6 separate regions of the Homo sapiens genome follow, and all the other regions are linked to region 1. Evidence: promoter capture Hi-C in 16 types of primary human blood cells and fetal thymus (Javierre and others, 2016). All regions are on one chromosome and are shown on one strand. Each heading gives the region's core, a stretch centred on a gene start or on the middle of the fragment in contact. The rest is flanking DNA. Distances are from core to core; before and after follow the strand shown.

Evidence for each region. Contacts are between HindIII fragments. The CHiCAGO score rates a contact against its expected background, and 5 or more counts as called.
Region 2: a fragment that was not itself captured here is called in contact with the fragment with the promoter of TMEM63A in region 1 in 16 of 17 cell types (fetal thymus, endothelial precursors, naive CD4 T cells and 13 more); the score reaches 11.1 in fetal thymus.
Region 3: a contact is called between a fragment that was not itself captured here and the fragment with the promoter of TMEM63A in region 1, in 2 of 17 cell types (erythroblasts and non-activated CD4 T cells). The highest score is 6.1, in erythroblasts.
Region 4: a fragment that was not itself captured here is called in contact with the fragment with the promoter of TMEM63A in region 1 in 2 of 17 cell types (naive B cells and endothelial precursors); the score reaches 6.3 in naive B cells.
Region 5: a contact is called between a fragment that was not itself captured here and the fragment with the promoter of TMEM63A in region 1, in 2 of 17 cell types (naive B cells and erythroblasts). The highest score is 5.4, in naive B cells.
Region 6: a contact is called between a fragment that was not itself captured here and the fragment with the promoter of TMEM63A in region 1, in 1 of 17 cell types (naive CD4 T cells). The highest score is 5.5, in naive CD4 T cells.

The regions. Positions count from the first base shown.
Region 1 is chr1:225,880,334-225,884,816 of GRCh38, reverse strand. It overlaps TMEM63A (transmembrane protein 63A), which reads left to right and starts at 2,437. Exons shown (of 25, transcript NM_014698.3): 1 at 2,437-2,513. RefSeq lists enhancers at 1,519-1,568, 1,629-1,678, 3,881-4,483 and silencers at 2,189-2,348, 2,909-3,028. The HindIII fragment of the contact is 8,028 bases long and covers 1,543-4,483 here.
Region 2 is chr1:225,488,589-225,492,747 of GRCh38, reverse strand. It overlaps ENAH (ENAH actin regulator), which reads left to right. Exons shown (of 14, transcript NM_018212.6): 14 at 1-4,159. Among named protein-coding and RNA genes, the nearest start is that of LINC02765, 23 kb to the right of the region's middle. The HindIII fragment of the contact is 2,064 bases long and covers 708-2,771 here.
Region 3 is chr1:225,446,863-225,451,206 of GRCh38, reverse strand. LINC02765 (long intergenic non-protein coding RNA 2765) reads left to right here. Exons shown (of 3, transcript NR_187303.1): 3 at 2,622-3,203. Among named protein-coding and RNA genes, the nearest start is that of LINC02765, 19 kb to the left of the region's middle. RefSeq lists enhancers at 3,375-3,934, 3,935-4,344. The HindIII fragment of the contact is 3,451 bases long and covers 1,341-4,344 here.
Region 4 is chr1:225,548,206-225,552,492 of GRCh38, reverse strand. All of the region lies in intron 3 of ENAH (ENAH actin regulator), which reads left to right. Among named protein-coding and RNA genes, the nearest start is that of LINC02765, 83 kb to the right of the region's middle. RefSeq lists an enhancer at 3,001-3,500. The HindIII fragment of the contact is 220 bases long and covers 2,034-2,253 here.
Region 5 is chr1:225,512,037-225,516,609 of GRCh38, reverse strand. It overlaps ENAH (ENAH actin regulator), which reads left to right. Exons shown (of 14, transcript NM_018212.6): 7 at 1,710-2,014; 8 at 3,594-3,739; 9 at 3,896-3,953. Among named protein-coding and RNA genes, the nearest start is that of LINC02765, 47 kb to the right of the region's middle. The HindIII fragment of the contact is 516 bases long and covers 2,953-3,468 here.
Region 6 is chr1:225,529,357-225,533,874 of GRCh38, reverse strand. It overlaps ENAH (ENAH actin regulator), which reads left to right. Exons shown (of 14, transcript NM_018212.6): 4 at 3,237-3,321. Among named protein-coding and RNA genes, the nearest start is that of LINC02765, 64 kb to the right of the region's middle. The HindIII fragment of the contact is 169 bases long and covers 2,931-3,099 here.

The DNA.
Region 1 (4,483 bases), core at 1,188-3,687:
GCCAATACTGAAATTTTTTTGTTCTTGACACTTTGACTTTCCTGGGCATAGTGACTGGGCTTTATTCCAATCCTACTTGCATCAAAATAAAATCTGTGATCAAAATTATCATCTATACTTAGAGAAGAAAATAAAGCTTCAGAGGATCTGGAATTTATAGCTGTAAGAGCTGTGCAGCTGGGCGCGGTGGCTCACGTCTATAATCCTGAGGATCACCTGAGGTTGGGAGTTTGAGACCAGCCTGACCAACATAGAGAAACCCCGTCTCTACTAAAAGTACAAAATTAGCCGGGTGTGGTGGCACATGCCTATAATCCCAGCTACTTGGGAGGCTGAGGCAGGAGAATCGCTTGAAGCCAGGAGGTGGAGGTTGCAGTGAGCTGAGATCACACCACTGTACTACAGCCTGGGCGACAGAGTGAGACTGTGTCTCAATAAGTAAATAATTAATTAAAAATTAAAAAATAAAATAGTGATTTTACAAGCACTTCACACAACTGACATAACAAAGGCTGTGGCTATCTCAACTCACATATCGATCCATCAAGGCCTTCTCTTGATTTTGAAATAACCTTAACCTACTCAAGAACAAATTTAGAAATCCTTTCTCTCTCTGAAATCTTTGTCAGTGGCTCCAGCATTCTAATTACCAAGACCGGAACCTTGCACTTGCCTGGACCCATGGCACAGACCAGACAGGTGGGGGCACCATTCATTGAGGAAGGAAGGAGGACAGGCAGGTGCGGGAGTGGGGAGTGGAAGAAAGATTGGACAGGGACAGTCTAAGGAGCCAACGGGGAGTCCAGGGGCCACACCCAGGACTCTGCAGACCGTCAGATGTGGAGGTAAGAGAGCAGGGAGGGGGGATGGCCAGGCGCAGCTATGGAGGGACAAGGGCAGAGATGATACTGGCGGGGGGCATAGAGGAAAAACCCTGGAAAATAACTAGTGGCTAGAGCTTTGGGGAGAGAAGGGGAAAGACAGATGGGACAGAAAAGAACTGAGAGAGGCAGGAAGAGACCCTCCCCACCCCACTCCTGGACAGCCACAGACTGGCGCTAGAATCAGGGACAGGGAGGTAAGGAGGAATTTTTTTTTTTTTTTTTTTTTTTTTGAGACAGAGTTTCGCTCTTGTTGCCCAGGCTGGAGTTCAATGGTGAAATCTCAGCTCACCGCAACCTCCGCCTCCCAGGTTCAAGCGATTCTCCTGCCTCAGACTCCCTAGTAGCTGGGATTACAGGCATGTGCCACCACACCCGGCTAATTTTGTATTTTTAGTAGAGACGGGGTTTCTCCATGCGGGTCAGGCTGGTCTCGAACTCCAGACCTAAGGTGATCCGCCCACCTCGGCCTCCCAAAGTGCTGGTATTACAGGCATGAGCCACCGCGCCCGGCCATAAGGAGGATATTTTTATGCCGTTACAGAAAAAGATGAAAGCTCAGAAATGGAAGGGAGGTCGGAGAACCTGCAAAGGCATGCATGTGGGGTGAGGACTGCTCAGAGCTCAGAGAGGGGTGCTGGAAGGGACCTGAGAGGAAGCTTTGGTCCAACCACTCATTTCACAGATAGGGAAACAGGGGCCTGCGGACGGGTTGGTTTGCTCCTTGATTCCCAGGGCGCGCGGTCCTCCCCGAACCCAGCCTCGCTTCCCGCGCAGCGCCCAGCAGTCCCTGGCGCGGCGGGCCGGCCCTGCCCTCGCGAGCTTGCGGTCCGGTTGTGGAGGCCACCGGCTCCCTGGAAACATTTGGCTCCCGGCCGGGAGGCATGCCGCGCTCTCGGACCTGGGCTGGAGTAGGTGCCCTTGGCGGCCCTGGCTCGAGCAGTAATGGACTAGCCCCAGGGGGCGTTGGAAATGCTGCGACCCGCCCCCACATTTTTGCCCGAACGGAGACCCTCCGGGCTTTCACGGTCCGGCCTTCTACAGCGGCGGGGGAGCCGTGGCCTCTTGCAGGGCGCTCCGCGCGGTTCCCGACTACCCGGAGCCGAGGTGCGGGCTGAATCCTGCTGAGCTCCCCATGCTACCACCCCCGCAACCCCACTCTCCCGGGGCGGGTCTAAGAGCTCTTCGGGGAAATTCAAAGCACTACAGGGACCAACGTTTGCAGATGCTCTCCCTGCGCCGCGACCACCCTGTGCTTGGCCCAGTTCTCCCGGAGGCGTCCAGAGACTGGGCTCGTGCCGGGGGACGGAAGAGGGTGCGCCCCGGCGGATCCCTTCTTGGAGCCTGGACGTGAGCTGGCCGGTCCGGGGCTTGCAGACCTCCGGGAGGAGCTGCGGGGCTGAGCGGCGACCAGGAGGCCAGGCCGGGGCAGAGGACCGCCGAGGGCCACCGCGGGAGGCGCAGTCAGCTGCGTACAGGCTTGCGCCGCCGCGGGCCAAGACTCCAAATTGGGAAAGGGGTGGCCGCAGCTCTGCGCATGTGCAGGAGGCGCCGGAGTTTCACTTTGTAACTTTTAAGTGGTCGGAACACGCCCCGCGCTGCTGGGTCCCGCCAGACACGCCGCCGCCGCAGGTACAGGGGACAGGGGGCGTGAGGAGGGGCAATGCACCCTCCGCCTTTCCCGGGACGTGCGCGCCAGGTGTCCGGTTCCGGAACGGCTCCCAGCCTACGCAGACCCCAGAGCCCCCGACCCCAAGCAGGGGGTGACGACGCGGGATTGGGTGGGAGGAGAGGGTCCGGGCAGCGCCTCCATTCCAGCCCTGCGCTCCTTGGGAATTCCTGGCGGCTTTTCAGGACTTTCCTCTCCGGCTTTTCGCTTTCAGGGCTGGTATCTCCTTCTTCCCCACCCCTCTCTTTGGGATTTGTCGGCGGAGTCCGACCTCCCACCTAACTAGGAGTGCAGCTATGGGCTCCTCGGACCCTATACGAGGCCGGGCTGGGAAAGGGCCAAGCGTCCGACTCTCCTGACGCCAGGAAGGCAGAGGCCACCCCTCGGGCTGTTCCTGGGTGACCACTTCCTGCAGCCTTGGCGGAGTCCTGAGGAGGGAGGCTGGGGACTCGGGGACTGGGGGGAAGGGCGGGGGCGGAAAGGGTGAGGCGAGCTCTGCTAAGAAACCAAATCCGCAAAGGTTCCAGCACCTGATAAGACTAGCTACCTGAGGCCCTGGAGGGGCCTTGGTCATTCAGCCCCAGGCAGGTGGTGTCCTCTTCAAGGGCAGGGGTGGACAGCGTGGCGGACCCACTGACCCTCCCTTGACACCTCTCAGGTCATCCTCAAGTCTGCTGTGCCTTCAAGGGGGATATGAACGGAAGCCGAGGCTCCTTTTCCCTTCACACGCCCCTCTCCTTTGTTTAGTGTGGGGGCAAAGGTCTCTCCTAGCTGTTCGTTGGGCTCTAACAGAGAAGACGTCAGGTGGGATCCTGCCCTTGTGTTTCCCATTAGCTGGAGGGGCGACTTAAAATAAAGGCAGACAGCTTCTAATTGCTTGCTAGGGCCGGGTCCTGGGCTAAGTGCTTTACAGGTGTTGTTTGGGATCTGTGCCTCCCAACAGCTCCGTGAGAGAAAGTCATCACTCGCATTTCCTGGCGAAGGAAGCCAAGGCACAGAGTGGTTAGGCTGCTTGTCTGAACTGCGTGGTGCTGAGACCCTAACTCCAGAGCCTGCTCACATAATCCCTGAGCCACACTGCCTCTGGTTTCAGCCAGGGGCTGTGTCATTTCCTTTGTGCTCCAGGGTAGGAGGTAAACAGTTGTCCAGGTTACTGGGTCCTGTTTGGTGTTGCCATAAGGAGAAGTTTGTACTTTACTTTGCAACCTTATTCTGCATCTGAAAGACCAGAGTTAGCTCCTGAGGCAGAAGGCCTGGAGCTGCTTGTAGTTTCGCTATTGTCATCACAGGATTGAAAGATTTGGTGATGATAAAATTACCCTGAATTTGTACGGGCCTTCTTGCAAGAACGAACAATATCCATATACTTCCTGCAACATTCTGCTGGTATTTCTAGAGCTTGTCAAGTTGACCACCAGGCCAGTCCTTGCTGCCAATGGAGACTGGCAGTGGATTAGCATAGGTAGTTTACTTTGGCAAATTTAGACCAGCTGTTGGATTTAGCCCTCTCCCACTGGCCACAATCAGACGCTTGCCTGCACATGGGTTGAACTTTGGGTTGGGAGCGTGAAGTCACCTGCTGCCCACTCTGGCTCTTGGGCCTCAGCAGTAATTCTTGGCTTTCCTACCCTCGGCATATTGAGTAGGAATAAGGGGATGAATGGAGAATTTCTGGAAGGCACAGGTAAGTGCTAGGCATTCACATACATCTAGGATGACTGAATATTGCCAGGGGTTCTCAGCCAGGCAGTGCCACTTCAACCACAGTGCCTAGCTGCTGGTTTGGCCTCCTCTATACAGCTGCCAGCTGGGTGCTCCCCTCCCCCTGCCTTCTCCTCAGCCTGGCAGCACTGTCCCATGGTGTCTGTGTTCCCAGCTGCCTGCTCAGAGCGTGCCTGTTTGTGAAAATGCAGAGGAGCTGTCCCATGGAGAG
Region 2 (4,159 bases), core at 490-2,989, 390 kb after region 1:
TAGGACTGTCCCCGTTACAGATACTCTGTGATGCACACAACCTTCTAAACGGAAGTGTTAGTATCATTTAAAGCACATAGTAGGCCTTGAGTATTTGCAGATTAACATGCAGAAAAAATCAAAGATGAAGCCCCAATTAAGTGTTTGAACCAAAGAATCACAGTCACTGAGCTGCACCCCCGTTCTGTGAAGCATGTTAAATACTCATAAAGAGCAGAGAGCAGGGCCCGTAGACGCTTCTGGTGTAGGACACAGGAATTCTAGGCAGAGGGAGAAAATTAGGGGCCCCAGTTGGTGGCTGAGAGTAAAAAGAATATACCATTTGAGTAGTGCTGTTCTTTTTCCTCAGTTTTTAAAGACATATAATTCCTAGTAGTTAGGACATCTAAATAGCTCGGTAAACTGGTCAGAGGCGGGAGGATTGCTTGAGGCCAGAAGTTTTGAGATCAGCCTGGGTAACAGGGAGACTCATTTCTACAAAAAAATTTAAAAATTTAGGCCAGGCATGGTGGTGCACACCTGTAATCCCAGCTACTCAGGAGACTGAAGCGGGAGGATCACCTGAGCCCAGGGAGGACGCGGCTGCAGTGAGCCGTTATCATGCCACTGTACTCCAGCCTGGGTGACAGAGCGAGAACCTGTCTCTAAAAAAAAAAAAAAAAAATTCTAAGAGAATATAGCTTTTCATAGAAATTATTAGAAAAGCTTACATATTTCATTAGAGAGCCCAGTTTGTTAGACTACATTTATTCCGTAAAAGTTCTATATACAAATGACAACCCATAGTTTATCATGTAAATCTGATTTAACTGTTCCCTTCAATTCCAAGAAAGATTTCTTCAGCAGTAGATGACAATTCTAAAAGCATAAAGAAATAACTAATAAAGGAGATGGATGATGTTATAGGTTGGTTTGGTTGGGTTTTAGTAAATAGTTATTCTTCTAAGAAGGCTTAGAAAATCGAGAATTGAATAGTTGGTACTTTGAATTCCATAGGAAAAAGCACTCAGAAGAAAAAGTCTACATTGGCTAGTGTTTAGATTGAGAGTTAATTTTCCCATCAAGTCCAAAAGTTTCCATCCAAGTCTATAGAAACTGAGAGAAAAGGTTCTTGGCTTACACTTAAAATACACATTGTTGCAACCATATAAGAGAGATACATTACAGAACGCTTTTAAAAATTTGGTCTCTTAAGCGCCTAACAGTCCATGCTTTAGTCACATCTGTGAAACCTCTTTTCTTTTTTTCTTTTTCTTTTATTTTTTTTTTTAAAGATTAAAGGCATTTTAAAAATAAATGTTTCATGGCCGGGCATGGTGGCTCACGCCTGTAATCCCAGCACTTTGGGAGGCTGAGGTGGGCAGATCACCTGAGGTCAGGAGTTTGAGACCAGCCTGGCCAACATGATGAAACCCCATCTCTACTAAAAATACAAAAAAATTGGCTGGGCATAGTGGTGGGCACCTGTAATCCCAGCTCTTCGGGAGGCTGAGACAGAAGAGTCGCTTGAATCCAGGAGGTGGAGGTTGCAGTGAGCTAAGACCGCGCCACTGTACTCCAGCCTGGGCGACAGAGCGAGATTCCATCTCTAAATAAATAAATGTTTTTCAACGTGTTTTATGTGAGAAATACCAGCTTTTCATTATTACTACCAGTTGATCTCAGGTGTCACTTGGTTGGTTCTGCTGACCGAGGCACTGGGCATTTTAAATATGGAGTTTCCCTCCACCCATTGATCAAGTCTGAGGTTTGTCCATCCTTGGTGGCAGGCTAGCTTAACCATGGATTCACAAACCCCATTTGATTGTCGTAAGTCATAAGGCCACCCCAGTGCCAGTGGTTGGGCATCACAGTGAGTCTGAGGTGATGAATTTGAGTTAGCTGTAGGCTAGTTCCGCAACTCAGCAATAGCCCATGGATGGTTGGTAAAAGACGTTGACTTTGCCACTTAAATTTCCAGGAGAAGAATAGCTTATAGTTTATCTGAGGAAAGTAATTGGGAAGGCTTAGATATTGAGAAGAAAGCCCTGTTAAAATCTAGGTAGCATTTCCTTTCTTCTTTATTACTAGAGGGATGGGAGGTTCAGGCCTGAGTCAGGACTTTACAATTTGGTGTCCTTCCCAGAGGTACTTTGGGCTTGATCATTTTAAGTTTCAATTGCAAAAAAAAATTTTTGACGGAGTGTTGCTCTGTCACTCAGGTTGGAGTGCAGTGGTGCGATCTCGGCTCACTGCAACTTCCCCCCCCTGGGTTCAAAGGGATTTTCCTGCCTCAGCCTCCCAAGTAGCTGGGACTACAGGCGCGTGCCACCATGCCCGACTAATTTTTGTATTTTTAGTAGAGATGGGGTTTCACCATGTTGCCCAGGCTGGTCTTGAACTCCTGAGCTCAGGTGATCTGCCCGCCTCGGCCTTCAATTGCAGAAGTTTTTGAAGGGAGAATATTTGATCCTCACATAAAATGTCCTTGTTTCTGAAAGAAAACATGGTAAAAATTGTTATTGAGTCCATGTCTTTGCCACCTTGTTGGACTTGATTTCCCTTTCTCTGTGTTCCTCCCGCCCTCAGTCTCTCTCAGTCTGTCCTTTTTTGTGTGTGGAGTTGTGGGCAGGTCATTGGACTGGGACTGACTTTACCAGTTTTCAGGCTGTGGGGCTAGTCAGTCATTCTCTCTGAGCCTTCTACCTCTAAAGTTGAGTTCTTTTTTTAAATTCTTTTTGTTTTGTTTTTATTTTTTCCTTGCCACTATACAAGCAAGGATAGATAAAGCTTTTTATTATTATTGTTATTATTATTATTTCGAGACAGTCTCGCTCTGTCATCCAGGCTGGAGTGCAGTGGTGTGATTTCAGCTCACTGCAACCTCTGCCTCCCGGGTTCAAGCGATTCTCCTACCTCAGCCTCCTTAGTAGCTGGGACTACAGGCATGCGCCACCACACCCGGCTAATTTTTGTATTTTTAGTAGAGACAGGGTTTCACCGTATTGGCCAGGCTGGTCTCGAACTCCTGACCTCAGGTGATCCACCCACCTTGGCCTCCCAAAGTGTTGGGATTACAGGCATAAGCGACCGTGCCCATCCCCGATAAAGTTGAGTTCTGAATTTCCTCTTTCACTGTATTCTCGGCAGCTACTGGTTGGTTTATTCTTTTTTTTTAATCTTTTTTGGTTTATTCTTCTTTTGATCTTTGAAGAGAAGGAGAAAAAAGATCTGAGTTTGGCTCTCCCATCTTAAGTGCAGCTTTTAGTTGTTTTATAGTCATAGACGCTATTGCACTGGACAGCATGCATCCTGGATGTAAACAATGCGGAAAAATCAATGGAGTGACCATCTTGGGGTCAGTGGTGTTGCATAAAGCACCAGTGGTGTGCTGTTCTGTGTCAGTTTCCTCTGCGCCACGTGCTTTCACAGTTTGAATTACCAGCATCTCTGTGGTGGCTTCAGTACATTCTCCATTGTGCTTCAACCTGGAAGCACATTCTGCCGTTCAGAAAGACTGATTCCAATCATGTAATGGGACCACACGAGATCCATGCTCCAATTATATGAATAGCAGAAGGTCCATTTGACTCTTGTAGTTCAAGAGCTGTTTCTAAGTAAACAGACTTTCCAGAGCTCGATGAAGTGAAGAAGCCCTTCTTTCAATTCCTGGGCAGAATTCAGTGGTTTTCATATCATCTGAACCTGCTGTGCTGCTGTTTATTCTATCACTGTCAGCCTTGAAAGGAAAAAAGGAATAATCTTACCCTCCTGCCCTTCTTATTTTATATCTTCCATCTTATCCATCTATATCCATGTAGTCATTCCTTCCGAGTTCCCTGGTTTTAATCCAAAAGACTCTGTTTAACAGCAATGTCTTGGCAGACCAGGTGCCGCTTCCGTGCCATTTGAGGGCTCTGAGTCTTTGCTTCGTCTTAGGAAGATAAAGATAATTTGGCAGAAAGTCAGAGATGGAAATAGCAGTTTGGGATGATAAAAGATGGGTCCTGTTTTGCTGACATTCTTTTACTTTGGTTCTTGGTGCGTGTCCTTTGGGATTCATTTCTTGCTAGCATGAATAGGACATGCTTTTCGTTAGGTGCTTTTCTTTTTTGGAGAACATGAAGTGTTTCTAACAAAACTGAATGAGCTAGAAAGAATTCTATTTTGAGACATCTGT
Region 3 (4,344 bases), core at 1,817-4,316, 430 kb after region 1:
CAAGACCTGAAGAAGAGAGGGAGAGAGCCTCAGGAGTGTTGGGGAAGTGTTCCAGTCATGAGGGCAGCATGTGCAAAGGCCCTGAGGTGGAATCCAACAGCACGGAGGCCACTGTGGCTAGAGCTGAGTGAGCAGAAGGAAGAGGGTCAGAGGAGGAGGCCAGTGAAGGGGAGGAGGATTCTGAAGGGCTGTGTGCACCTTGGTAAAAGATGGTGATATGGTTTGGCTGTGTCCTCGAGCTGCTGCGGCCTGACAATGAAACCAAGCTTCCAGCAGAAGTGGAGGCAAGGGCTAGGAGACTGTGGCTCCAGTGATATCATATGAGTCCCTTGGTCAAGTTGAGCCGGAAGCACCAGATCTGTCCCTAGACTTTTTGGTTATGTGCCAGGAAAACAATTTCCTTTTTTCCCTTTTCTCTTTGCAGTTTACTTATTGTTATATACATTGCAGTTCAGAGAGTGCCCCTGCTCACAACTGTGTAAGCAGAGTGAGGGTTTACACGGGCCACTGTGACCTTCCCCTTGACAGGAAGCCCCAGGGCTGCGACAGCAGGACGATGAGCTGGCAGAGCTTCGCACAGGCTGCCTGGAAACTGGCACAGCTGCATTCATCAGAAGAAACAGTTGCAGCCGGGTGTGGTGGCTCACGCCTGTAATCCCAACCCTTTGGGAGGCCGAGGCCGGCAGATCACTTGAAGTCAGGAGTTCAAGACCAGCCTGGCCAACATGGTGAAACCCCATCTTTACTAAAAATACAAAAAAATTAGCCGGGTGTGGTGGTGCTCGCCTGTAGTCCCAGCTACTCGGGAGGCTGAGGCAGGAGGACTGCTTGAACCTGGGAGGTGGAGGTTGCAATGAGCTGTGATCGCGCAATTGCACTCCAGCCTGGGCAACAGAGCGAGACTCTGTCTCAAAAAAAAAAAAAAAAAAAAAAAGAAGAAGAAACAGTGGCTGATGCTTATACATATTTTATTTATCTCACAGTGTGGTACAATGTCATAGCCCTAGATAACTGGAAAAGACGCCCCCTGGAATTCTGGAGAATCATGAGAAATGTGTCAGGAGCTTGTTCTGCCTTGGAGGGGGTCTGGAGGTGTGAGGCATAGGGGCTGCCCCTGGGTAACCTGGATCATCAGCTGCTGCGGGGCATGGCCTGCACCATCCTGCCTCCCCAACTTGGCTCTCTCTGTGTCCCCTGCCACGTCAACCTTCCCATCTTTTCTACTGTCTTCTAAAATCCTGCCCATACTCCAAGGCCCTTCTGGAATGCCACCTCCTCCTGTCACCCTTGCTTGCTAATCCCTGACACGTGACCTCTGTTGCTCCTTTGCCATCAAAGCTTGGCAGTGGTCGAGGGAGGCAGTGCTCTCCAATGAGCAGAGCACAGGCTTCCCTTCCAGGCGGCAGAGACCTGGCTCTGCCATCTTCCCACTGTGCGACTGTGGGCATGTCACCTGACCTATTTGAATCTGATTGTCCTCATCTGTAAAATGGGAATAACACTCTCTACCTCGACATTGCAGGGTCCAGAGAGAGGGAGGGGCCGGGTAGAGGAGACCAAATCAACCGCTTGCAGACTCCTGTGCTCTATCATGGAAGGTTCCTAGGGGCTCCTCCTCTGCCCCAGGTGCTCCTCAGGGGCCAGGAGGACAGAGCAGAGGCAGGTCTGGGCAAGAAGGGTGTGACCGCGCTGAGATATGCACCCGTATAGTTGGCAGTCGGCGCCTGCCTTTCCTTGTTCCCAACCCACTCTAGAGTTCAGGCTCCGGGAGAGCAAGGATGGGTTCTGACTCATCCTGTAAGCTCGACGGGTGAATGCCCAGCCTAGGAGGTGGCATAGAGGATACAGGTGGCCCTATGATTGAATTGAGGTAGTGAAGAGTGGGAATTTTTTTTTTTTCAATAACAAATTGTGGCTGGGTGCAATGGCTCATGCCTGTAATCCCAGCACTTTAGGAGGCCGAGGTGGGTGGATCACTTGAGATCAGGAGTTCGAGACCAGCCTGACCAACACGGCGAAACCCCATCTCTCCTAAAAATACAAAAATTAGCTAGTTGTGGTGGCACACGTCTGTAGTCCCAACTACTTGGGAGGCTGAGGCAGGAGAATCACTTGAACTTGGAAGGCGGAGGTTGCAGTGAGCTGAGATGGCGCCACTGACCTTCAGCCTGGGCGACAGAGCAAGACTCCGTCTCAGAAAAACAAAACAAAACAAAAAAAAGAAACCCAAAATTGTGTTAAGCTGAGATCCAAGCAAATAGAGAGGCTGAAAAGAACACAGTTATGTGGGGTTTTCCCCAAGCACAGCTCCTCAATCTCAGCTTTCCACCCTTTGCTGGGTCCTTCCCTCATTCAGCTTTATGGGAGTCTTTATAGAATTCCTACTCTGAAGGTGGCGCCTGGGTCACCAAGTAAGACACAGAATTTGCCCTTGGGGTGCAGAAATAGTGGGTACCCAAGGCAGGATGCCCCAGGCACCATGAGGACATCCAGACAGGGGGGTCAGCAGCCTGGGACTCAATGAGAGGGAGGCGCTGAAACCCAGAGGCCACCCCAAAGTTCAGACCCTGAGAGGGTTAACTTTTGCCCACCCCCACCAAGCCGGACTCTTTTCTCACCAGAGTGGACACAACCTGAAAACCAACTGGACTGAGCATCCTTCTCCTAAAATCTCAGCCAGAAGCCACGATGGAGGGTCCTGGGAAGGGAAGAGATGTGAAGATTTCTGTGATTCTAAAACCTTGGGTCTGCCTGCAAACTTCTCTCTGATCCCAGCCGAGAGCTGTGCACACGCTAGCTAGCCCTGTCACACAATAGCCCAGTGTTCCCGTCACAGTGCCTGGGAATGAGAGGCTTTTGAGGCCACAGAGCTATGACAAGTCCCCAGGTTGAATTGACTCTGGGAGGACAAATTTCTGAGAGACTCACGGGACCCTTATCCAGGACAACCTCACAAAGATCCCTGAAACTGAGCTTCCTCTGCTTCGTGCATAGTTTGAGGTATAAACTTTCCTTGTGTCTCGGTCAGATGAAGTGAAGGATGAATATTATCCCAGGCTAAAGTAACGAAAAGTCCAGAAGCCAGCGATGACAGAGATGTGTGTGGAAGAAGGCTGTGAGCATTTCCATCAAACCCTGTGAGTTTCCGAAGATCTTATCCCGAAGATATGTGTTTGGCCAATAAAACACTGAATAAAAATCCATCATGTTTCCAGAGCCAAGTCGACTTCTGCTGGGCTGGGGTGAGGCAGAGGCAGAATCAGACCTTATAAAGATGTTTTGAATAGCGGCTGTTCTGGGATCGCAGCCCAGTGACAGTGAATGCTTTCTGAGTTCTCGGATGAGAAGGAACAGAGTGACAGACTGACCATAACTGGCCACTGTGGTGTGTGCTCAGCTCCAGACCAGCACCTTATTTGGTGGGGGGAGAGGGTTCAAGGCCCCAGCGAGACAGTGAGTCCTGGTAGGGAAGGAACTCTGGCCAAGCTGCAGGCTGTGCAGTGGAGTGGGTTAGGAGGGGCCCTCGGGGAGGGAAGAACAAGGAGAGAGGGAAGTGAGAGGAAAGGAGGTTTCTCCTTCATCTAAATCCCAAGTATACACCCTTCTAAGGTCTGTTCTGGCCCTTCCCTAGGGAGTGCCTTCCCCTCTACCTGCCAGGTCCCATAGATAAGGATGTCCTCCCCTGCAGGCGCCTGGCCTCCATCACAGCATGCCCACTCTGTGCCCGCTGCAACCTCCTCTGACTCTCCCACTAGACCGGTGCCTGGTACACATGCTCCTGCGTGCATGAACATCGGTCAGCTATGGGTCCTCAAGATGACAAAACCCCCTGCTCCTGTGTCCTCACGGGGATCTGCACCAGCACTGGGCTGAACACTCTCCCTGCAATCTGTCAGTCACGTCTTCTGTAGCATTTTCTTTCTGGCAACAACGGTTGGGGTCATTAAAAGTGTCTTTGAAATGCAACCTTTTAATTACAGGAGGAATACTGCCCCTGGGAAGGGGCCTTTCTTCAAATGCTCCAGGAATTCCTTGGCCAATACACTCCAGGGGGAACACAGCCCAAAACGGGCCTGTGGCTGTGATCAGACCCAGGCATCCTGTCAAAACAGGAGCCTGGGAAGGGGAAGCTCAGGGAAGGAAAGGGGCTCCTCTTGGGAAGAGCAGGGGTGCTGGAGGAAGAAACCCACCCAGTCCCCTTTGGGCCTAACTTAAGATATGCTCACCGGCTCTCTAGCACGCAGTTTTCCCCAGGAGGTCCCTTGGCCATGACCCAAAGTTAGGAACTAGGGGTCTGCGGACGCCTCCTCCTCCCATATCAGAATATGCTCTCCACCGCCTGCA
Region 4 (4,287 bases), core at 894-3,393, 330 kb after region 1:
GCCTTAATTAGTGTGGAAGTAGAAGCATGGGAGAGAGTAAGATGTTAAGAATCAGGGCCGGGCACGGTGGCTCACGCCTGTAATCCCAGCACTTTGGGAGGCTGAGGCGGGTGGATCACGAGGTCAGGAGATTGAGACCATCCTGGCTAACATGGTGAAACCCTGTCTCTACTAAAAAATACAAAAAAATTAGCCGGGCGTGGTGGCGGGCGCCTGTAGTCCCAGCTACTCGGGAGGCTGAGGCAGGAGAATGGTGTGAACCCGGGAGGCGGAGCTTGCAGTGAGCTGAGATCGTGCCACTGCTCTCCAGCCTGGGCGACTGAGCAAGACTCTGTCTCAAAAAAAAAAAAAAAAAAAAGAATCAGGAGTGTTCTTGGGAATAGATATAATTTCTTACGCAGATTCTCCAGTGTAGAAAAGGTATGTACCCTACCCCAACATTATATGGGCCACCTCCCCTTTATCTAAACAAACATACCCAATAATGTCACCTCTCAGTTTGATCATACCCTGCCAAAAATCTTTGCTTTGGATTCACAGCCAATTGGCTGCTGAAATCATCTACTGTCTTTCTTCCAAAACCAAGTTGAAAAAGCTTAACTTACATCTCCCTTCCCTTTACAAACTGTAGCCTGATAAAACTGATGAGAAGCAGAACAAACTTATTGATAAAGCAACTACAAATATTAGTCTTGCCTGTTTCTTAATGTTTTACCACTTGTTAAAACATTTTTCCATATTAAACATTTCTGTTTGTATTTTTATTTATTAGGTGCTAATATCAATATTATCCACTGTTGTCATCGGCTAATCCTTCTCAGTGATTTTCAGACTTTAAAAAGTTATGGACATTTTTGTGCAAATGAGATCTTTGGTAGTTCAGTGTATAAATGGACAGAAAATATGGAGCTTCTCTGATTGATATAGGGTTCCGGATCCGCAACCACTGAGATGCCTCCATGGTTCTCTAGAACTGAATTTGAAAATTACTAGCTCACGTTTTGTGCTAAAACCAATAATCACATAATTTTCCTTTCCTCTTCTTCCGTGTCCCCTACGTCCTCAAATTTTTTAAATTTATAAAAAACAGCTTTCTGGGGGGCTAGTCATACCAACCTTTACAAGGTGCTCTGTGTGTTTGTGTGATATTTCCTTTTTTTAATGAAAATGGTGGGTGGCAGAAATGTTTTCCTTTATTTTGTTTTTAACTTGGTATGCAATTATCTAATATACTGGAAAGTACAGAAGGTGCTAAATACAGTGAGTTATATTTGGAAGTTAAAAAAACACAAATCACATGTTCTAACATTTTTGAAAAAGAGCTGAATTAGTGCTCTTCCTTTTATACCAAATGCTACAGTGTATTTTTTCCTTTCTCCATGGAAATGGATTCAATTTTAAATGGGTGTATTACCTAAAGTGATATTTTTGATTTCTCTATTATTTATCCAGTACATTTATAGATTTTTATAGGTAATAGTTATGGATTATATAAACTACAAAGTTAATTTTTGTGATAATTGGTGGAGGCAAATTTGCCCAACTTTTATTTTCTTAAAAGGTTTAAATCATTTGAAAATAGGAAATAATTTTTAAATCCAAAAAAAAGAAAATTATATGCATAACCAGTAAGATTATCCCACTGCTTTTGTTCTCAGCCAAGATGAAGCATGCCTTTTCAAAAAGAACACCCCAAAATAAGTATTTTACCATTATCTAAAAGACTACTTTTGCTGGGTTTTATTTTTTAATCTATTGAACATGAGAACATGGTCAAAAGTCATACCTTCCTTATGGTTGAAATTTTCTAGAGGTTTTATAATATTGAGATTTCATTTTTTAATGATAATTTGGCCTGACATACCTTCCAGTATGTACATTTGTATGAGTTTTATCACAGCATTTAAAAATCTCTTTATGTTTGGAATTAATAGGATTAAAAAAATCTCAGTAGTTTCTAGAAATACTTTATAGTGACAGTTTTGTTTTTTAGTCTTCCAGATTGTTGATATTAATGCAAACAATATTAAGCTTATATCACAAAAATATTTTCAGTAAAGCGTATTTTTTATAAACTGTGTTAGGCACTGGGAATAATACAAAAATGATAAATAAAGCCTGTCCCTTGCCTGATGTCACAGTCGGGCTACAGCTGCCAGAAACAAGGCCAGCAAAATTAGGATACAGCTTGCGAATGTAGTGTGAAGAAAGGCCTTCGGAATACCAAAGAAAATTCTAGGGTCAGGGAAAGCTTTGAAGAGAAGGTGATGTTTCAGCTATGTTTGAAGAATGGGGAGGGCTCATCAGTGATAGAACATTCTAGATAGGTTTGGAAGCATGAGAGCATGGAGCAATTGGGAAATAACAAATATGCCATGATGTGGCTTGGACATGAGAATTTATGTGGTGGGGGTCAGGAGCAGGGCATCCCAAGAGATAAGGTTGGGAAGGGCCTAGTGCTGACGAGTGTGCATGTTATCATGGAGGTGGTGAAGAGTCATTGAAGGATGCTAAATAAAGGATTGATATGATCAAGTTTGTGCTTTAGGACAAGTGTGGTGAGCATGCAAGTTTACAAGCATGAAGATCAATTCAGGACACTGTTGTAATAATACCGGTGAGAAAGATGAGGCCTGAACTGACAAAGTAGAGAGAGGAGAGGAGCAGAATGAAGAGGAGGTGACCAGCTTTCATTTAGTGCTGGCTATACCTGCCACGGCAGTGTTCTAGCTTTCTACCTTTGTCCTCACATAGAAATTAAAGCCATTCTGAGGCAGGAATAATGATCTATTTATTGGTCACCTTCTGTGTGCTTGGTCTTAATCTGGCGTATACATAACCAATCATCTTTATAACAACCCTACAAGGTTGGTGGTATTATCCTTGTTTTAGAAATGAGATTGGCACTTACAGAAGGTCACTACTGTAGTGATGCGAGGACCCACAGCTAGACAGTGGCATTAGTGGCTTTTGTACCGAGGTCTTAGAACTCAACCTCTTTTCTCTTTGTCAGTAAGATGTAATGGGCAGGCCGGGAAGGAGAGAACAGTGTTTTAAAATGATGACCAGGTGTGTCAGTTTGGGCCCCCGGTAAAGATGGTCCTGTTAACCAGAGACAGAGTGAAAGAGGATGGAAGAGGAAATACTGTGCTGCAGATAACACATTTGGTTCTGGATATACTCCATTTGCGGTTCTTTATTAATGCTTTCATGAAATCTTAAAAATTTGGACCTGAAAAGAATCCCAAAGATAACCCTGGACAAAGTTTTTTAGTTTAGCTTTCCGAAACAACTAATCTTATTGGAGAATTAACATTTTGAACCCTATAAAACCTATCTGTTTGGCCAGGTGCGGTGGCATACACCTGTAATCCCAGCACTTAGGGAGGCCGAGGCGGGTGCATCACTTGAGACCAGGAGTTCGAGACCAGCCTGGCTGATATGGTGAAACCTCATCTCTACTAAAAACGCAAAAATTAGCTGGGCGTGGTGGCGGGCACCTGTAGTCCCAATTACTCGGGAGGCCGATGCAGGAGAATTGCTTGAACCCGGGAGGCGGAGGTTGCAGTGAGCTGAGATCGTGCCACTGCACTCCAGCCTGGGTGACAAGAGTAAAAACTCTGCCTCAAAAAAAAAAAAAAAAAATCTGTTCACTAAGTATTAAGTGAGTAACAGGTTTGGGGATTGGGTAGGTGGGGACAGTCTTTTCGTAGGTCTGCCTGCTCTACTTTCTTCTCATACTTACCTCTCACAGTCCTCCCTTTTGTGAATCACAGTAATGTGAGGTTAATATGTCTGTTGTCACTCCCAATTTCCAATTAGAAAGGTTGACATGGAGAGCTGGGATTTCCCCAGGCTGTCCATACCTAGAAAGGGAGGCACAAAGGGGATTGGGTTTTCGAGCCTTCAGGCCATTTATTTTTACTGCGTTTGTCTGGCCTTCAGTTCAAGATCTTCAAAGCATTTTTAAAAACGCCTTTGAGGGAAGTCAGTTTAGAGTGAGAAATTAGGAAAGCAAAAATTTGAATTTACTTTTAGTTTTGTGTTTTTAAGTAAACTGTTAAGGTCTTTATTGTGATTTAGTAGAAAGAACTTGAGTTTAGAGTCAAAAGACTCTAGTTCTGTCTCTCCCTCTGGTGCTTTCTCTAAAGCTATTTCCTAATTTATAAAATGTGAGTCATGAGAATATTTATGTCAGGATATCATGGGAATTAAACAAGGCAAAGGCATAGTATTAAACTAGAAAATGTTATTTTGAATGCTAATGTCCAAAAAAAAAAAAGAAAA
Region 5 (4,573 bases), core at 1,961-4,460, 370 kb after region 1:
GAGCACCGCACCCAGCTAATACATGTCTTTCACTGGGAAAACTTTGCTTGACACGTTGATCTACCACACAATAAATACATGATCTAAATTGTTTTCCTTCATTTTTCTGGGAGACTTAGAGAGATATATTTAGTGCCCAACTGTAGTCATTAGATACGTCATCCCAGAGTTTCCTTTGGAACAGTTCTGATCTTGGGCCCTGTTTCCTTCTTGCCTTTCCTATATTAGATGCCCCATGTTGGACTTCCAGGATAGGTGTCACCCTAACCCTTGGAGCATTATGACTTTGCAGGAGGAGTAGAGAGGATGGCAGGGTTCATATATGCCCTAAAGGGTTCCAAGGTCCAAAATTACAATAAGTAGTGGCTTGAAGGGGTAATCAAGAGAGAATAGCATCCTCTGTAGTTATTCTCCCCGTCCCTACCTTATTGTTATGGTAACAGGGAAGGCAGGATGTAATCTCTAAGTGGATTATTTGTAAGTAGAAAAGGACCTGGTTCTGTAAGTAAATAAGAAGATGCTTGGCAACCCTAGTTTTTAAAATATGATTTAAGGAGGACTACAGAAAGAAAACTGAAAACAAATTTGTACTTAAACATTGCAAGGCTTGTTATTGCTGTATATGTATATATTTTGTTGTTGTTGACTTACAAATTTGCTTAAAAGGTTAGTCAGAATTCTAAGACGTTCAGTTTGGTTTCACCATGACAGTTATACTGTACAAAATGGGCACAGTCAGCCTGACAAAGTGACCTGCTGTACCCTCAGAACTCTTAACAACCCCTACAGAAGGGACAGACTATTTCTAGATGCTTCTTTTAACAATTGATGTTTTCTGCTTGTGTAACTGCTCAAGCTGAAAAAGTTAGCAATTACCACCCAGTGTGCAAAATAGCATTTTATTCGTTCTGAAAACACCCCTCTTAAACCTTAACTAAAAGAGCACCTACTGTTTCAGGATTCTGTTATTAAATAAATTCTTGTTCACTCCCTTTGTGATTTTATAACATTTGAACATTTCTCTTCTTGCCCCCCATTTTGTGGGATAAAAACAACTCTACTTCAAATCCTATGGTATTTAATTATTTCCGAGCGTTATTTTGAGGTTTTACTTTGTACTAGTAAATTCCTTTACTTCAGTGATTCTCAGCCTTGGCTATCCATTGAATTTAAATGTGAAGTATTTTTTAAAATGCTGAAGCTGGGACTTACTCCTCCTTCATGTTTTTAATACAGCCACTTTGACTGTAAACAATTAAATGTATGTGTTCACTGTTACTGAATTTACTGTCTCAACACTTAAGGTTAATGTGGATTATTTTGGGTCTGATATTTCAAGTAGTACTAACTGCCATCCTATATACTAGTTTGTTTTTTCAGGGACGCTTACCTCTCTTCCAAATTTTATAAGTATTTATTTTGCTTATTTACCAAATCCCCATGAAAAAAAAAAGTCTTAATTAGATGATCTGTTGCATAGTTCTATTACTAAAGCTCTAACCTAAAGTAAGTAGTTATATATACTTGGACCTTACATTTCAGTATCTTTCAAAAACTGATCTAGACTTTTACAACTATGATAAATTGGACTCATTAAGTAAATACATGAGTCAGTTTAATTTAGCATGGCATTCTGCGTACCTTCCCACATAAAATAATATCACTCAGCTCTATTGTTGATGGTCTTACTTAACATTTCTCTCTCTCAGGCATTGTCTTGGGACCACTTGCACCTCCACCTCCTCCACCACTCCCACCAGGGCCTGCACAGGCTTCAGTAGCCCTCCCTCCTCCCCCAGGGCCCCCTCCACCTCCTCCACTCCCATCCACCGGGCCTCCACCGCCCCCTCCTCCCCCTCCTCTCCCTAATCAAGTACCCCCTCCTCCTCCACCACCTCCTGCCCCACCCCTCCCTGCATCTGGATTCTTTTTGGCATCCATGTCAGAAGACAATCGCCCTTTAACTGGACTTGCAGCTGCAATTGCCGGAGCAAAACTTAGGAAAGTGTCACGGGTAAATACCTTTCTGAAAAATTTTTTTAATATGTCTTATTCTTCCTAAATATCTAAAATGTTGAATTTATTGTATTCTAATTTTATGAAATGTTATGAACTTCATTGATTTAAAAAATTGAAATAATTTACCCTGGCGCAATGGCTCATACCTGTATAATCCCTGCACTTTGGGAGGCTGGGGTGGGCGGATCACCTGAGGTCAGGAGTTCGAGACCAGGCTGGCCAACATGTTAAAACCCTATCTCACTAAAAATACAAAACTTAGCCAGATGTGTGACACATGCCTATAATCCCAGCTGCTCGGGAGGCTGAGGCAGAAGAATCGCTTGAACCCGGGAGGTGGAGGTTGCAGTGAGCCGAGATCATGCCACTGCGCTCTAGCCTGGGTGACAGAGTAAGACTTTGTCTCAAAAAATAAAATAAATAAAAATTAAAAATTGACATAATTTAAATTTTTATAGTGAAGTTGTAAGAATAGTATAAATAATTTCTATAAATTCATCACCTACATTCACCCATTAACATTTTACCAGTATTTGCTTTTTTATTCCTTCTTTGGATATGTTTCCTTCTTTACACATGCACTTTTTTTGTTTTTTCTCTTGAGACGGAGTTTCACTCTTGTTATCCAGACTGGAGTGCCATGGCGCGATCTCAGCTCACTGCAACCTCCACCTCCCAGGTTCAAGCGATTTTGCCTCAGCCTCCTGAGTAGCTGGGATTACAGGCACCCACCACCATGCTTAGCTAATTTTTGTATTTTTAGTAGAGATAGGGTTTCGCGATGTTGACCAGACTGGTCTTGAAATCCTGACCTCAGGTGATCCACCCGCCTCAGCCTCCCACAGTGCCGGGATTACAGGTGTGAGCCATCGCACCCGGCCTACACATGCACTTTTGTTTGAATGATTTGAGAGTAACTCAGAGACACAAGCTTCTATTTTCCTAAGTACCTCAGTGTGAATTTTATAAGAACAAGGACATTTACCTGCATAACCAGTAATATAATTATCAAAATCAGGAAAGTTAACATGATAGAATACTGTAATCTACAAATGTATTATTCAAATTTCATCTATAGTCCAATGACATCTTTAGTGACAGTTTTTTTCCTAGTGCAAGATCATTTATTGCATTTAGTTATAATGTCTCTTTGATATACTTTATGACAGTTCCTCAATCTTTCATAATACTGGCATTTTTGAAGACTGTAGGACAATTATTTTGCCTGTTATCCTTCACTTTGGCTTATCTGATTTTTCCTCAAGATTAGATTCTAGTTATGCAGGGGTTGTTTTAGCAGGAATATTATCAGAGCAAAGTCATGCCCTTTTCATGGCAGCACAGGAAGAGATACATGATACTGTTTCATTGCATTCTTGGTGATAGTAGTTTTGATAAACTCTTGTTGATATATAAAGTCATGCTAAGAATCTATTGGTTCTTAAAGCTTAAAAAATAATATTTAGGTTTTTTAAAATTAATGCTGATGTTTCCTTCTGTTTTAGATGTAATATATTAATAAAAATATGGTTGTCTAACATAGGAGTTGATTATGTCTGTATATTCTCATTAAGATGGAGGATACCTCTTTCCCAAGTGGAGGGAATGCTATTGGTGTGAACTCCGCCTCATCTAAAACAGATACAGGCCGTGGAAATGGACCCCTTCCTTTAGGGGGTAGTGGTTTAATGGAAGAAATGAGTGCCCTGCTGGCCAGGAGGTAAGGAATTTCATTATAATGGACATGCCCAGAATTGAGAGGATTTTAATTGTATTCCAAATACAACTAACTAGATGCACTTCTTTCCTCGTAGAGAAGTGGTTTTTATACTGAATCAGATAATATTTTTAAAAATCGGATTTGCCTTCTTTGTAGGAGAAGAATTGCTGAAAAGGGATCAACAATAGAAACAGAACAAAAAGAGGACAAAGGTGTAAGTTAATAAAGATAGTCTACCATACCTTAAAATATGGAATTCAGGCACAGCTCATTCAGGAAATAGTGTCAGCATTTATTTAATTTGGGCTTAATTAGTTTGAACTTATATTTGCTAATTTTTAACTATGCATGTGAAGTGGCTTGTTTTGACTGTTATTTATAAATTTTTAATGGCAGTCTTAGTAAAGTGAGTTGAATATGTGAAATTATGGGAAAAGCATTGAAGTTCAAACCTGTGGAGTTTAATTCTGTTCCTTAAATGAGTGAATGACATTTCACTACTTTTTTCATCTCTTAGAATCTCAGTTCCCTTGCATTAATTTAAAAGGAAGGAATTCGCCTAAATTCATATGTTTCCCTTAGGAGCTTGATGGTTATTGGCTGTGCCCCTTCAGAGTGTAACCTTCATGCCCTCCTCCCTGATTCAGCTGGGCAAACTCTGCTTTGTCTGTGCTGTATATTGGTGTGCAACAAATAATATGTTCCCCCTGCTCCATCTGGCCACCTTAGATGCCATTCCTCAAATCTGTCTCTCGTGTCTGGCTTTGTAGCATTGGCTAGTGAAAGTTCTCAAGGAGAACACATGAGGAAAGGAGCTGTGGGGAGGGTTGAAGG
Region 6 (4,518 bases), core at 1,766-4,265, 350 kb after region 1:
TGTCTTTTAGTCCTGTGTTTTTAAATAGTCTGTGGCTAATTGTGAAAATAGATTTGTGAAAATTAAAATGTGACAGTAAGTGGAATGTGCTTTAACCAAAACTCAATATTGAAGGCAAGACTGACATACAGTTCCTATTATAGAGTCTCCTGATCTGATTTTAATCATTTATAGGGTACTGTATCAGTGACATTGCCACATTTCTCTGTTACAAACAGTAACTCACAGACTTTGCTATATACCTTCTTCTTGTAGCCAGGACAAATTAAGATCAGCCACTATCTTTGGCTGTGAGGGAGAGAACAAACTCTCAAACAGCTGCTATTCTTTATGATAACATAGAAAGAGCAAAGCAGGTTCACTAGTTTCTTAACCTTGGTTGTTCTTCCCTCTTTTTCCCCTCCCCAAAGGGCTGTTAACCACCACATGATGCTCATAAAATATTGTCATTTTCCCACTGAAATGGTTATGAAAGTACCTATTTTGCATTTTATGAGAACACACTCATTTAGGAATGTGACCTGTGTAAAGTAATGTTTATATTCCTGAACATACAGCGGCAGCTGACAGACTTTGCCTGATCCTAGTTGCTGCTTCATGTCATGTGGGGTGCCTTTGGTATTACTTACCAATTTTATAGCCCATTAGAATGTTTGACAAGAAGGAAAAATGTAATTGTGTACCTTAAATTTATATTTACCTGGAACTTTTAATGTTTATAGTATGTTTGTATTAATTTTTAAATGCACATAAATTTCAATGTGCTAGTTACTGCAACCTGACAATTTGAAGAAGAAACAAACAGAACAACCAGATTAAATGTAGATGTGAAAAAGTGCCAAAGGGAGTGATTCCATGCACGGACACACACACACACCCAATTTAAAGGATGTCTGGAAAGACAAAAAGCCCAAAAATCCATTATCATCACAAAGAACCATGTAGAAAAGAATTGTTAAGAGTTGTTCTAGGATCAAAATTCTCCCCATTTTAAAAGGAACTTCCTTGAAGCTTTTCATCTCAGCTGCAGGAATAAACTGTAGTAAATTTTTTTTATAATTATGATAACAGCCACAAAATATTACCCACATTTTAAAAATCTCCTTTCTGAACAGATTTGCTTAGTAAGCTTTTAAAAAGCTTTAAAAAAATATTCCAAAGCAGGTTCTGTAAATTGCTAAAAGATTTTCTTTTCTCAGCTTTTGTGAGTTACATTAAACTTGTGTTAGTTTTTTAAAAACCTGTTAAATAAAATAAATAGGATTGAGTTGAAATTTTGACGTCTTTTTTGAATCTATATATTTGAATTAAAACTGAGATTTTAATTGGCAAATTTAATCCATTAATATTACCTTTGATATATAACACCTGTCCTAGGTGTGTGACTGGTATAATTGCATTCTTCTTTGAGGTAGATGCCAAACAGGTCTAACCTACTCACATTCAGCTGTTTCATTATTTAAGCAGCCTGAGGCTTTCAACTTAAATACTCAAGTAAACATTATTTTAAAAAATAGTTAAAACATAATGGTCTTGTGAGTTGCCCATGCTAAATGCTCACATTTAGTACTTTGGATATATAAAGTACATTCCCTAAATAATTTCATGCTACCTCAGATTTACCCGCCCCTCCCCACACTTGTGTGTCCCCAGAAGAGAGGTCTTTTCTCTGTAAAGTATTAAACATTTGTGTATAGCCTAATAGGAGAGTCTGTTTTTACATCATTATTTTAATTTCCCAAGAAAAGAATTCTAGTCTGTTTACTAGACAGCAATCATGTATTTTCATTTATACAAACATTTACGTGTGTATTTAATTTCAAAAGTTTTGTTTTTTTTTGTTATTGATTACATGGGATTAATTTTTTTTTATAATATTTATTTGGTTCTCAAAATAGCAGACTCTTAGGAAATCTAATGAAATATATCACTGCAGTTGTCATCAATTTGTCTTTAGAGGACAAATAAAGTGATTAATCTAAAAACATTTGTAAAGAGGTGAGAAAAAAAGTTAGTAGGTAAGTTCAGATCAAATTAATTCTGTTTTTCCACACTTGGGATACACCAGTACTGCATTACATCCTAATAAATCTTTACTTCCGGTTGTGAAATCTACTCCACTAGTATAAAATACTTTGCACAATTAGCCCATAGATTACAAGAATTTAGTGCACAGAAGCATTTATTTCGTAACTTATTTTCCTAAGTTGTCTACAAATCTTTCAGAATATCTGTTAGGAGCATTTGCTGGTACACTAGAATTCACAAATATATGTAGTGTGTCATTACTCATATATTCTTCTCCAAGAGTGGAAGATAACTACTGTTTCTTTACTTTCTTGTTTACTGGATTAGACTTTAAGATTGTTCTATTTTAACCCTAGGTATTATATATTAGGTCCAGTATTTATCTCATTTTGTGACAGATTTGATTTTTATATCCAATGACATTAAGATGTCCCATAATTCAGTGGCATTCTATCTAAGATGCAAAAAACAGGTCTGCATTGTACATGATATGTGGGAATGGATGGTCATTAGTGTCTCATGACAGAACCATGTTGTATGAATGCAAGTTTTTTTTTCTTCTTACCCTAAATGAAAACTTAAAATTACCTGTTACATTAAAAATTCAGTTCAGTAGGTTAATTACTATATGGAAGTTTAGCAAATGTTTGTTTTCACCAGTGCTGGAAATGCTAGGCTATTAGACAAAAATGGCAGCTTAAATTGGGCAAATTTGATAAATGCTTTAGCATACTGGAGTCTAGTAATAAGGTTCTCATGCTCTCTCTCTCTCCTGTTTTTCATTTCCAGTGTTCTATTTAGGTGAGTTTTTGAATTCTGATTTTTCATTTAAGTTCTCCCTCTCCACTTCATGAATAATTACCCCAAAGAGAATGTCTCATTGTCTTAGAAACTGTCAAGCTTAGGTGCCTCTTCAGATGCTCATCGAACACTTGTTTTACTCAAGCTCTTCATATATAAATGTTTCTTTTTCCTTATTGTTGATGTTTTCCATTTGTTTCAAGTAAGCCTTCTGGAGATGATGACAGTATTATGTTGCAGTCTTTCATTTGCTCTGTGTTATGTAAAGCTTATATTTTATTTTGCTAGACAAAAAGAAGACACGTTTGTAAATATGTGATGGTTTTATGTTATTCTCATGATTTTATCTCCTCTGTCCAGCTAGATATGAAAATAATGTTCATCTGTAATGTTTTCTCCCTCTGTAGGGCCAACATTGCCTAGACAAAACTCACAACTACCTGCTCAAGTTCAAAATGGCCCATCCCAAGAAGAATTGGAAATTCAAAGAAGGTAAATTTTCAAGTTATTGTTTGTACTTTTTCTTTATGCTTCAGAAGACAAAACTGAACATCCTGTGTTTAAAGTAGATTATGTCTTATCAGCTGTTTAAGAGTCACAACTTTTATTCTTACATTAGTAAGTTTTGTGACTGTCATTAGTAAGTTACCAGATACTTGTTATGCTGGACATGAGATGTTATAAAATTTCATATGTGTTTTTTTTTGTAAAAATTATACTTAAGGTATGTTTAAAATATTGTAAATACGCTTAACAGAATTCAAAATCTTCTTATGGTTCAAGAAGTCTTACTTTTGTAATTATAAAGTGATCTGTGAGTACTATGATTTTCATGTGACAAATTTAACTAAAAAGTTGAAATATTGTTGGCTGTTTCTGTAACACATTGATCTTCAGATATTACTATAGGGTTTAGTAGTAGAATACAAAATCATTCTCTACTGGGCAGCATTCTTCCATGACTAGGAGTTCTCTGAAAGTGGTCAGAGTACGTAGGCTGACAGGCTAACCTTTGGAGTACCAGGATGGTGAGCAGGCAGGCCTCAGAACCGCACAAACGCTGAGCTACTAAAAGTTCCACTGGAAGCCCCAACTCATCTGAGGCAGCTTGTTCAGTTTCTTTAGAGAACAGTCTTCTGTGGTAAATGCCATTCCATCCATTGAGCTGGGGTTGGGGAGGACAGGGGAGGAGCTGGTACAGCTGTTCTTCAGACAGTGTATATACTTATTAATCAGCTTGATTATTGTGGCACTGCTCATTCCCGTTCTCTCTACCTGCTGACCTCAGGTTAGATCTTTCCCAGATTCCTCTTCCCATGTCTGCTTTGACCGTCTTCAGTATGTGTTCTGGGTTATGGATGCCTCCACTGCTCCATTTATTTATGTCACAGGCATTTTTTGTTCTAAGTACTTATATTGGGAAGGGTGGGGAGAGTGGAGGGAACAAAAAGCCTGAAACTCATCAGACAATAAACATGACATGGTATAGTAGAAGATGGTAAGTGCTATGGGGAAAAATGCAACAGAGTAAGGAGGATTATATGTTGTGAAGGGGCAGAGGGAAGTGCTGGTTGTAATTTTATTTTATTTTTCCGTCCATTACTTATCAGTCTCAGTACTTGTGAGTTTAAATAGAGTGGTCAGGGTAGATCTCATTGAGATGAAAAGAAGGAATTAACCAAGCAGATA